Linked DNA regions of Homo sapiens: region 1 is linked to region 2. Evidence: promoter capture Hi-C in human tissues and cell types (Jung and others, 2019). All regions are on one chromosome and are shown on one strand. The core of a region is centred on a gene start or on the middle of the fragment in contact, and the rest is flanking DNA. Distances in the headings are between cores, read along the strand shown.

Region 1 (5,946 bases), core at 2,861-5,360, 140 kb after region 2:
GAGGTCCGAAAAGAAACTGGGAGGAGCTGGGATGTGAGTAGAGGAACAGGGGCAGGACTGGGAGCCCCCAGGGACCTAAGCCTGAAGACATTTGTGTCCCCCTTCTCTAACCTTAACCCTCTTGTTTGGCCGGTCCTTTCTCCCATTTCCTTTTAGGGAGGGTGTGAGCTGGAGCCCAGCCCAGGCAGCACCCCCAGGACCAAGCTGCAGCAGCCAGGACTGGAGGACAAAGGCGGATTGTTGGGGGACAAGGGGGCGCTCTGTGCCTGCTGCAATGCCTCAATGGGCCTCTGTCTCTCCAGCATGCCGGGAGCGCGGCCTAGCCCCCACCCTGGTGTTTGGGATGGGCCAGGGAGACAGAGATGGGAGAGGACGGGAGGGTGCAGCGGAAACTCTGGAGGGCGGAGAGAGCTGGCAGGGTGGACAGAGGTGAGGGCCAATGGTGGAAAGGAGAAGGGACAGGCTGGGAGACCGCGAGATGTTCAGGCACCACGGATGCCAAATACAGATTAGGCCATTTTTAAATAAAGATATTTATTTGGATAAATCTCTATACATTCAATAACAGCTTCCTCCTCAGAATCATCCATGTCAAAAGACTAGTAACTACACTAGAATGCACCCAAAGTAGATGCTCACTGAGTGATGAGTAAACAAACAAATAAAACCAGGGGCTCTTTCTTCTCCAGCAAGGGGGAAATATCTAGAAAGTGCCTGTGCTGGGCCAGGGTAGCAGGGGATGGGAAAAGAGGAAGAGACAGGAGTGGTGGCCTCCAGAAATGGGCAGAACTTTGAAAACCTTTCCTGAGAGAAAATGACAGGACACCAGCTTCCGGCGGCCCTAAGCAGCAGCTGCTCTTTTCAAAATGTGCAGAAGTGCAGGCTTTCCCCAAAGCCCCCCATCCTGTCCCGGGATCCTGCTGCTCCAGACAGCACTTCACAGGGGCCAAGCATCTGGGCATCCTGGCCCTTCATGGCAAGTGGTTGTACACCTGGCTCCAGGTTTCCCAAAAAGGGACCAGCCTCCAGCAGGTCCGGCTAGCCCATCACACGGGGCCGCACACACACACAAGCTAAGGAAACACGGTACAGCCTGCGCTCCAGGCAGTAGCCCTTGTGGGTGCCCTTCTCGCCATGGCATGGCCGCCGGTAGAAGACAGTCTGGTTGTGGTAGAGCAGCTCCGAGTTGCCCCGGGGGTCCATGTGGGAGCCTGTCTGTAGGCTGACGCAGTGCGGGCACAGGCAACGGGCGTGGTACAGGTCCTGGGGGAGCCGGTTCAAGTCTCTGTCCAACCTGTGGGGGCGGCACTTGTCAGGCCTTGGAAAGATGGGCCGGAAACAGAGAGGGTGGGGTGGCATGGGAGTGCCAGAAGAAGGAAATGGTCCGTCTGGGGCCTTGGCCTCTTGTCTCAGTTCTGAACCCACTTGCTGTGTAACTTTGAACAAGTCACCTCCCTCCTTTATTAAATTTTCCCCACTGTAAATGAGGGTAGCAGGTGACAGAGTGCTTTCCAACTGGTCCTGGGACCGTGAGGGAGGCAGGGGAGGGTGAGCAGGCTCCTGCCTTAGCCTCCATTGACCAGCACTGCTTCTATCTGACTCAGCATGAGGTTTCTTATTGTAATGATTACACTTTAGGTGTTTTTGTTTGTTTTTTGATTTTTTGTTTTTGTTTTTTTGAGACGGAGTACCCAAGCTGGAGTGCAGTGGCACGATCTTGGCTCAACTGCAACCTCTACCTCCTGGGTTCGAGCGATTCTCCTGATGCCCGCCACCATACCCAGCTAATTTTCATATTTTTAGTAGAGATGGGGTTTCATGATGTTGGCCATGGTTGGCCAGGCTGGTCTTGAACTCCTGACCTTAGGTAATCCACCCACCTCGACCTCCCAAAGTGCTGGGATTACAGGCATGAGCCACCGGGCCGGACTTTAGGTGGTGTTTCTATTATTATTATAGCATTATTGCAAAAGTAAAAACCACTCTGACATCCAAGTATTAAAGAGTATAAAGAGTGAAAGTTAATAGTCTCTCCCTACCAGCCCCACTCCCCAGAAGAAGCTATCCTCAACTATTTCCTGCACATTCTTCCAGACGCTGTGCAAGCTTATATTATAAGCATACTTGAGAGTGCATGGGAAGACTTATTTACTTATTCTGAAAGGATTTCATGGCAAAAAAAAAAAAAGAAAGAAAGAAAGAAAGATGAAAAACACTGAAAAGTAGATGTCCCACAGGTCTGCGACTCCATTAGTCTGGCAGGCGACAGTCTCCAGCTTGTGGGACCATTCCCCACACAGACAAGCCCTGGCAAATGGAATTAGCTAGCACATCACTTCCCAAAGTGGGTTCCCTAATAAATCACCTGCACCTGTTGGGTGCTTAAATGAATTTGGGAAACACCAGTTTAACGGTTTACTTTCTACAGACTTCTTGCAGACTTTAATGTACAATGACAGTATGAATCTCCAAGGGGTAGGAGATACAGCAGTCTTTCCCAAGTTTACCTGGCATCACTTTTTTCTGAGAAGCAGCTCATGGGATGAGCATTGCACAGAACACACTTTGGGGAAAGCCACCTGAGTGGTTCTCGGGTTCACAGACTCCCAGCAAGGGGTCTGGAAGACAGCTGAGTTAACCTCTGGCACCCGCCTCCCCTAAGAAGCTCCCATGCCATCTGATTTGGCCCAGGACCCAGCCAGCTTCTGAGACCACTCCAAAGAGTCATGACCTGTAGTGTCCACACTAGATCCAATCTCAGTTAGATCTGACCCCCTCCCCACCACTGAACTTCTCCATCTACCCCCAAAGCCAATGCTAAGACAGAACTAGAAGGAAGAAGTGAAATCACATGTCTGGAATCCCTAAGACCCTAGTTTTTAATATTTTGCTTCATCATTCATATTTCAGCACTTCCTAATATTTTTCATATCATGGCACAAATAGAGAACTATAATATTTATGTGGCACACTGAGTGAAAGAATACAGTACCCATGATCATGATCAAAGATATCCAGTCCACAGCTCCAGCCAGCCAGCTGCCCCCAAAAGTTAAGGGTTTCACTCCTTTAGTATGCTTATAACTAACCCATTCATGGCCAGGGCAGTATCAATTGGTATTGGGATGCTTCATGCCTGTATCATGCCATTATTCCCTAATATTTTACCCAGAAAAAACATGGGCCATTATAGGGATGTTTTAAAAGAAAAGGAGAGAACCAACATAAATACAGACTTTTACATACATTATATTTCATTTGATCTGCACATTAGCCTATGGGGCATTATATCATTTTGCAGGTGAAAAAAAAAAAAACCCTGAGTTTTGAAAACTTGAATTGACTCAAGATCATCCAATGAGAGTCAGAGCTAGGACTCAAATACAGACCTTGTCTAACTCCCAAACCTTTACAGCCCCTCTGAGATCAAAATGGGAAAGTAAGCTGGAATTGCCCTGGTCCCTCACGCATACCCTGGCCAGCACACACAGGGCAGGCATTCGGGAGGGGCAGCAGACTCACTCATATCTCCAGGGGGAGATGGCCCTGCTGTTGAGGGGTCCATCTTCACTGGCCCTACAGGACTCTGGGTGGCGGTTGGGCCTAGCAGGCTCTAGGGGAGGCACAGGCACAGTGCTCCACCTCAGCAGCTCCTCAGAGGTGTCCTGCCCTTTGCTGGGGCAGCAGCTGGGCCAGTGGCTGTAGGTGTGGGTTCCCATGACCATTGCCAAGAATGCAACCACCTGTAGGAAAAGGCTAATGAGAGAACTGTCCTCACCTAATCTGGGTCGCTCCCTCATCTGCACCCTCCCCCTGGGATCCCAGTTTCTCACTCCACTTGGCCCCCAGCCCCAAACCTGGCAGCTTGGCCTCCCTCCACCCTCAGCAGCATCTCTGCTCCTCTCCCTCTCAGCACAGCCCTCAGGCAGCCCTCTGCACTGACCTGGTACATGCTGGGCACTGCACACTCAGTCACAAGTGGGGCACTGACTGACAGGCCTCGTGGAAGCAGGCTGACTGGAGCAGGTTAGGAGTCCTGATTTTATTTTCAGCAAGCCTGTTTTGTTTATTCAAATTTATTTCCACTGTCTTTTTAGGGAGTGACTTGAGGTTAAAAAACAAAACCAAAAAAACTCTGAAAGTATTTCCAAAGGCTGCTTAAAATGCAATACTCATGGAAGTTGTGATGACCATCATTATATGCCTGGTAGCTGATTGGGTAAACTTTGCTCTTTGAATTTTTCTGGCCATGGGGTCAAAGCAATAACAGTCTGCTGTTCTGCATTCTTGTGAACTGGCATTAGCGGGATTTCCCTGGTTGGTTTGGTAGCCAAAATTAGGAAATGTCTTGTGGCCTCCCTTCAAGAGGCCTCGTTTCCATGATCCCTGCTCCCCCCATCCAGGGTCTGGTTTCACCATTCCCCTCTTCCCAGGTGTCCCTCTGATCATCCACCTTCGTGATTATTTCCTTTCCCTTAGACATCCTTTGACTCCCATCCCCTTTGTTCTCTGACCTCTTCCACATTTTCAATGACCCCAAAATTCTATGACCCCCATCAGCTATGACTTCTCCCCCATTGTCCATGACCCACTCCCTAACTCCCCCTTGCCCTCGCCAGTCACTGCCCCCCACCGGGGATACAAGCCTACCCTCACAGGGCTGCTGGAAGACCCTGACTTCCTAAGTTTGTTGGCTGGATGGGCAAGGTCTGATGGAAGAAGCTGTGGGTGAGTGTCCCCATTGCACAAATGAGAAGGTGAAGCAAGGAAGAGGAGGGAAACTGAAACAGCCTCACCTAAGACCCAACAGGAAGGAGGTCTCAGTTCCAGGAACCAACCTGCTCTCATTCACAGAGCCTTGGGGACCAAGCCCATGACAGGGTCAGCTACTGCTTTCAGGCCATGAAGTGAGCCCACTCAGCCTCAGCAGGTCCAGAAACATGGGCCACTGTTAGCCAGGAGGGTGTATGTGTGCCCCAGAAAGGCTTACAGTTGGGCTTGACCCCAAAGACACAGGTCAGCCGGGTCCAGCCTGCTTGGGAGACACTGTGCTGAGAGTGGGCCAGTGTGTCCTTCCCCCCAGGTCCTTCTCTTCATGCTTGCCTATTGGCCTGCCTCATCCCCCATACGCACCCAACATACCCATACACAGACATTGCCCCTAGAATGATGTGGCTTGATTTGCATGTGCTTTCCCTTAGAAAATACTCCTCTAGTAACCAAGGACTAGGAAATCAACAAAGGGAACCAGGAATAACTTAAACTGCAGTGAGAGGAATCTTTCCAATGCGTTAGGGCAAAGCAGCCCCAAAAGAGAGAAGTGATGAAGTCAAAGGGCAATCTGGAAAATTGGGAGAAACTGCTCTGCTCTGATGAGTCTTGGGGCACCTGGAACTGTGGGATGGAGGGCACTTAGAAGAAGCAGGTGGTGGCTGGGAAAGCAGGGGCACTCAGGAACAGTGATGAGGCCAGTATCATGGCCCCACTCTCACTGCCTCACCCTCTGCCCCCAGTACTCGCAGACGTCCTCTCCCTTCCATATCCTGCTGGCCTCAGCTCCTGTGCACTTACATGTGCCAGGCATGGTGCTAAGCCCTGGGCATGCATCATCTCATTTTATCCCGACAATGAAACCATGACATGGAAACTATTATCCCCATGTTACAGATGAGGAAACTGAGGCCCAAGGAAATTTAGTAACTTACCCAAGATCACAAAGAAAGAGGCTGAGCTGGTTTCCCATTCCAGCTCTGACCAATTCCACATGTAACCTCCTGGCATGGAAGTGCCACACCGTGCCTACCCCTAGTTGGCTGTGAATGGAAGGGGAGCCCCACAGTGAATGCTTTCCTGCTCACCTGGGCTTGGGTTGGGACAAGTTTCAACTGCACCTGCTGAGGGCCACAGGGTGTGTCTGCCCACTTAGGTATCCAGCCCTGCTGTTCG
Region 2 (5,795 bases), core at 2,041-4,540:
TATCTAGTTGGGAGGAAGGCAGAGCTGAGATTGACCAGGGAGTGCTGACTCAGCCCAGTTGTTAAGGGCATCCTCTCATGCCAGTTCCCTGCACAGAGCTCCACCCAATGCCTGGCCACCACTATGTGCACAGCCCCCTCTCTCTGACTGCTGCCAAGTGGCATCATGAGCATGTTTGGTGGCTTTGGGTTTGCTGCAGTGCCAGGATCTGAGACACTGTTCACGTGCCAGTGCAGCACTGCCAAACGTGGCAGCATCCAGTTGGTTGGGTGCCAAGCAGTAGGACCCAGGTGGTGATGAGAGATGAAAGCGGGGTGAGGCGAAGGGAGGGGGAGGAGAGGAAGGTACCGAAGAAGAAAATCAGACACCTCACTTGTTCAAGTGGAGAGTCCAAATGGGATCTGCAGAAAGGTACCCTTCCCATTCTAGAGCCCAGCTCAGCAAGCCAGCCCTTCCCTCCTTCCACCCCAGCAAAAGTGGCATATACAGACCAGACAAGGGGATCTGGCCATCTTCAGCAGGGAACTGGCTGGGGGCCAGGCAGGACTGCCAGCGCTTTCCATCCTTCTTCCTTGGGGTCTTGGCAATGGTGTGCTTCCTCCTTTGTGTCTTCATGCCACTCTCCGTCTGTTGCTCCACTCCCCATGCCTAAGAGGGAAGGGGAAGGAGGACCTGGCAGAAAAAAATCTGGTCTCCCAAACACCCCACCTCCCGAAATGTTTCACCTCCTTCCTTCTCACTCCTGGCACAATAGCCCTCTCAACCAGATTGGCAAGAGGCACTGTCAACCTCCCCTGTTCCACACAATGCCAGAGCCTGTGCCAGGTGCCATGGGCAGTGCCAGCACCCACCCACCTCACATCTGGTCCTCTTGCTGTCTCCTTCAATACTCTGACAAAGGGCCAGATTGCCAGCCCCAACAAGTTCTCCCTGGGTACGGTGGCACACTCCCTCCTCCCTGGCTCGTAGACTGTTTCTTGGCACTTCCCTGGCTACTCTCTCCACCACTTTACTTCCTCAAGCTGGAAGAGCACTAATCACCTCATACTCCAACCATTTTTCAGAGCTGAGCTTCTAGAGGGACAGCAACATCAGAAACACATTCTGCCCCTCCTCCCTGCTTCCTGGATCCCCCAGTCTCCATTGCCCCAGTTCTGGGCACCGGCCTGACAGATGTGATGCCAACAGCTCCCATGTACAAAGCCTTCCTCCCAGAGCACAGGACTCCTGCCGCTGCGCCCTCCACTCGCCTCCTCCCATCTCCGTGGGCACAAGGGTGGCAGCTACAATGCCAATGCCTGTAAGCAGGCAGCATGAAGCAACTCATGCACCCTCTTCTCCCCTCCCAGACCCCAAGCCTCTCCCCTCCTTCTTCCACTCCATCCCTCTGTCCTTCTGGTTGTACACTAGATTGGCAACCGCAATGCCAACCCCCACCCATGCCCAGGAGGCTCACATACAGCACACGCTTATGCGTACATGTACATGCGCGCACACACACATACACACACACACGGCCCCATGAGTGCCAGGCAGCGGTGGCAGACACACAGCAATGCACAGTGACTGGTACCCGAGGAGGCAGCCGGATTCAGCACCTGATCCAGCACCCGTTTGGGATTGGGTGGGTAGGCGGGCGGGCGGAGGGGTGATGGAGGCAGACGATGGCCCTAGGTTGGCAGCCGATGGAGCTGGGAGAATGGAGGGAACAGATGCTCTTTGCCCAGCCTCCCTCCCTCTCTCTCCCCGAGATCAGTGCCAAGCTGGGGGGATGGGGAGAGGGGAGGATGGGGGAAGGGTGGCATTTGGAGAGCTGGCAGGCGGAGGGAGCTGGGTCCGCCCAGGCTGGGCAGTGCCGGCACTGGCTGCTGCCTCTCCACTCTGCCATCTGTCTCGCTTCTCTCCCCACCCACTTTCTCTCTTTTTCTCTCTCTCTCCTTCATCCACAGCAATACGAAAAGAGGAAAACAGGGTCCTCATTCCACCCACCCCCAACCTCTGCCAGACCCCCCTCTTTTCCTCCCCACAACTCACCACACCATACCACCACCAAGCCATCTGTGCTCTCCTCCTGGCTCAGTCACCTTCTTTCACTCGCCTTCGCCCTCACACCAGAACGGGTGCAATTTAAAATATATATATATATATGCATATATACATATATATGCATATATATATACACACACACACACACACATATATATTTTTTAAAGCAACTTAAAAGAAAAACTCTTTTCTTTGGGAATATCCTATCCTTCTGAGTCTGGGTCCTCAGTACCAATATTTATGGCAGGCAGAGGGAGGGGACCCCGTTCTCAGCTGGTGCCCATGAATCCCATGCCAGGGAGGAGGGGTGGCTGGGGTGGGGTGGGGGTGGGGTGAGGTGGGGTATCGGGAGAGCTCGCTTCTCTCTGCGCCTGTGGTTGTTTCTTTTTTTTCTCCTCTTCTACTTCCGGAGCAGATTCAAATAGATCTAGAGCCTTCCCCACCCCCAGCCGCACAGCCCCAGTTCCCAGGGCCCCTGTGCCCTTCCCTGCCTGCTTTTGATTCCTCGATCACCCTTTCCTTTTTGTGTGTGTGTGTATACGTGTGCGTGCGCGCAAGTGTGTTTGCATCCATGGCGGTGGGCACTGTGCCAGCCACCGCACAGCCATCTGCGATGCCTTCTGCAACCTCTGCTATTTCTCCCTGTCACCTCCAGCCCCCAACCCCCTGCACCCCAGCTCCCCAGCCCCCAGTCCCCAATCATTAATTAGCTACTGAATTAATTAAATCGTGGATGCTAATTAACATTCCTACAGGGCAGGCTGCCAGGCTGGGGGTGCAGAGGGGATGTGAAGAGAAGTAGAGATTGGGATGGGGGAGGAGGAAGGAGAGCCAGTCTTCTTAGAAGAACAGCGGGGAGGGAAAGAGAACCCAAAAGAAGGATGAAGGAGGAAGAGAGCTGAGTGGTGATGGACAGGTTGGGGCGGGGGAAGGAGGAGAATAGACATGGAAAATGGGGTATAAAACTGCAGTCCAAGTGAGCGCCACCGAGCCTTCTTACCCAAATTAAGACTCAGCCAGTTCCTTGTCTTCAAGCTCATTTCCCCACCCCAGCCTAGAGAAGTATATTCCTCAGGCAGCTGACTCCAACAGTTGCTTCTCCTATAGAAAACCAACCCCAAACCAGGGAGTCAACAGCTACTATTTGTCAATTCAGCCACACTGACCCTCAGACCAGGTCACCAAGAGAACACTCTGGGCTCAGAGGGGTCCCTGTTGACTTGCCCTTGTCTACCTCTCTGTCAAGGGGAAGGAGCATTCTAGGAACATCTGCTGCAGGGAGACATGGGAGATCAATATAGGGAAATGTGAGGGTATCAAATCAATGGGAATTATTAATAGCAGAGAATCGCTGACAGTGCCTGTAAGACTGCCTTAGGAAGACCACAACATAACACTGCCTGCCTTTGCAGTTCCAGAGTAGGAAAAGTGTGTACTCTTACCTACCTCAAAAGTCAGGAATTTAGGAATAAGTCAGTAAGGGCTATCTAACTTTGAGTTGTTATTTTTTTAAAAAGGAGAGAGATGCCAGTATAGTGAAACTTCTTCCTGGGTGTGCTCTGTGAAACATTAATCTGATGAAATGCTCCTCAAGAAAAAAAGGACCCCCCAATCAAATTAGTTTGAGAAATACTGCATATTCCCTCTTTTAAGAGATTCACAATGTATGCTGGTATGTTAAAGGCTCTGAGGAGCTGGTTAAAAAACCCAAATGGTTGATCATGTTTAACCCACTAATTCTCAAACTTATTTGGCCATAGAGGCCTTACTTTTTAAGTTTTATTTTTATTTATTTATTTATTTATTTATTTATTTTGAGGTAGGCTCTTGCTCTGTCACTCAGGCTGGAGTGCAGTGGCATGATCACAGCTCACTGCAGCCTCCAACTCTTGGGCTCAAGCAATCTGCCCACCTCAGCCCTCCAAGTAGCTGAGACTACAGTTATGTACCACCAGGCCCAGCTAACTTTCAATTTTCAATTTTAAATTTTAAATTTTATTCCCACAGAAGCAGTATTCTGCTTTGTGGAAAGCCCTATCAAGTAACTAGGGCTGGTTCTGACCTGGAAGCTGGCAGATGGATAAGCCGTCCCCACCCAGGTCAGCAGCATCCTAACAGTCCATGAACAAAGGGACAGCAGTGAGGCTGTCTTTCTAATGTAGGAGTAATACAGGAAAGTACCAAACCAGCTCATGGGGTGCGGAAATCATATCACAGACCTATACCCTTTGCCTTCACCCCATCTTTGGAACCCTGCAGCATCTATCTTCCCCTGGAAAGTCTATTCTGTATCCCTGTAGGGGTAGGGGATGGGAGAAGGAGTTTGTGTTTTTCAAAATCTCCCCTCAGTGTTCCTGATATCTTGGATTCAGAACTTCAGTTCTAAGCCATCTCTGCTCTCTCTTCTAAAACATCCTTCACTATAGACCATTGGCATCAACACAAAGCTTCTATTCCTATTACCTCCTCAATCCCATTCTGGTCCAGAAACTACAAATGTCTCCTGGGACATCTCCTGCTGCATCCCTAGCAACCTTCCCTTTTCCTGTCCTCACTTAGGCATCTGGAGTCCCTGAGGTCACTTAACCTCTCTATCAGAGTCCTCAAGAGGATAGGCTGTCTGAAACCTGCAGGGACATATGACTCACCTTAATTTTAAATTTTATTCCCACAGAAGCAGGTTCCACTTTGAGGAAAGCTTGTCAAGTGACCAGGAGTGGTTCTTTAGCTCCTTGAGCTTCAGAACATCTACCCTCATGATGACTGGCCTCCCCCTGCCATAATGAGCCCACCTTTCCTTGCATGGCCCTTTGTGGAGCTGAAGAACAATGGTAATAGGTGGAGACCAGCTCATTTTAATAAGAATATTACCAATTTTTTTTCACTTTCTGGGTCCTATTGTTGGTCCCATCCTACGTCATACCCATGCTCCCAGTGTACAACCCCCCCCAACAACTTAACAAGAGTGATGACTCTTCACAAGAAAACTCACCATACCATTTCAAAGACAGAATAGCTTTAAAATACAAATTTGATTTGCCATATTTCCAGGTGATAAGGTCCCTCCAAACTCTGAAAGCCTATCAATGTCCCAGCTGACCCCATCTCCTCCCTCCCTCTCTAAAGCCTCCTGTAGAAGTCCCAGACTCCTGACAGCCTATGGCACAGGAATGACAGAGCCATTTCAGAGTGTGACTCACTGTCCCACCTGCTGACTACTCCTCTAGCTGAGGAACCATAGGATAAAGGGGCACAAAGTGAAGTCACTCACCTAACCAGAGTCTAGAGGCAAAACCTAAATGTTCTCAGAGGACACATTTTTTAAAGAAAGCATTTTAGGGCTGCTTTTATCATTGGGTGACATCTTTGATAAATTATCCCCTCAGTGGTCAGTGAGAGAAGCCAATACTCAGTTTGCCAGGGTTGTAGATTCCATCCTGGTTCACTTTCTCTTCTAGAGCCTGTTTTATCTCTCCAACACTCAGATACTGAGCAGTTGTCAGTAGCAGAGGCACTCCAGAGCTGCAATATAAATGATGATTATTATATTATCAAATAACATTGCCAAGCCTGGCTGGCTCCCTATAACAGTGATGGTAGAGGTGAGCTACAAGATTCAGTATTGATAAACTGTATATTGTCTTCTGGAACCATCATTCGGCCTGACAGCCACTCTCCAAGCCTCCCACCATTAGCAGCAAAGAAGCAGGAGAGACTACTTAGTGGTGGCCCTTGGGGGATGGGGAGGC

Evidence for each region. Contacts are between HindIII fragments. The study calls those that stand out against the background at their distance.
Region 1: a contact is called between the fragment with the promoter of IL25 here and a fragment that was not itself captured in region 2, in 1 of the 25 tissues and cell types used here (hippocampus).

The regions. Positions count from the first base shown.
Region 1 is chr14:23,370,973-23,376,918 of GRCh38, reverse strand. It overlaps IL25 (interleukin 25), which reads right to left and starts at 4,110. Exons shown (of 3, transcript NM_172314.2): 1 at 3,944-4,110; 2 at 3,523-3,743; 3 at 516-1,294. The coding sequence starts at 3,952. The coding sequence ends at 1,039. It also overlaps a transcript of CMTM5 not described here. The HindIII fragment of the contact is 4,168 bases long and covers 695-4,862 here.
Region 2 is chr14:23,509,113-23,514,907 of GRCh38, reverse strand. It overlaps a transcript of THTPA not described here. Among named protein-coding and RNA genes, the nearest start is that of ZFHX2, 40 kb to the left of the region's middle. The HindIII fragment of the contact is 5,147 bases long and covers 717-5,795 here.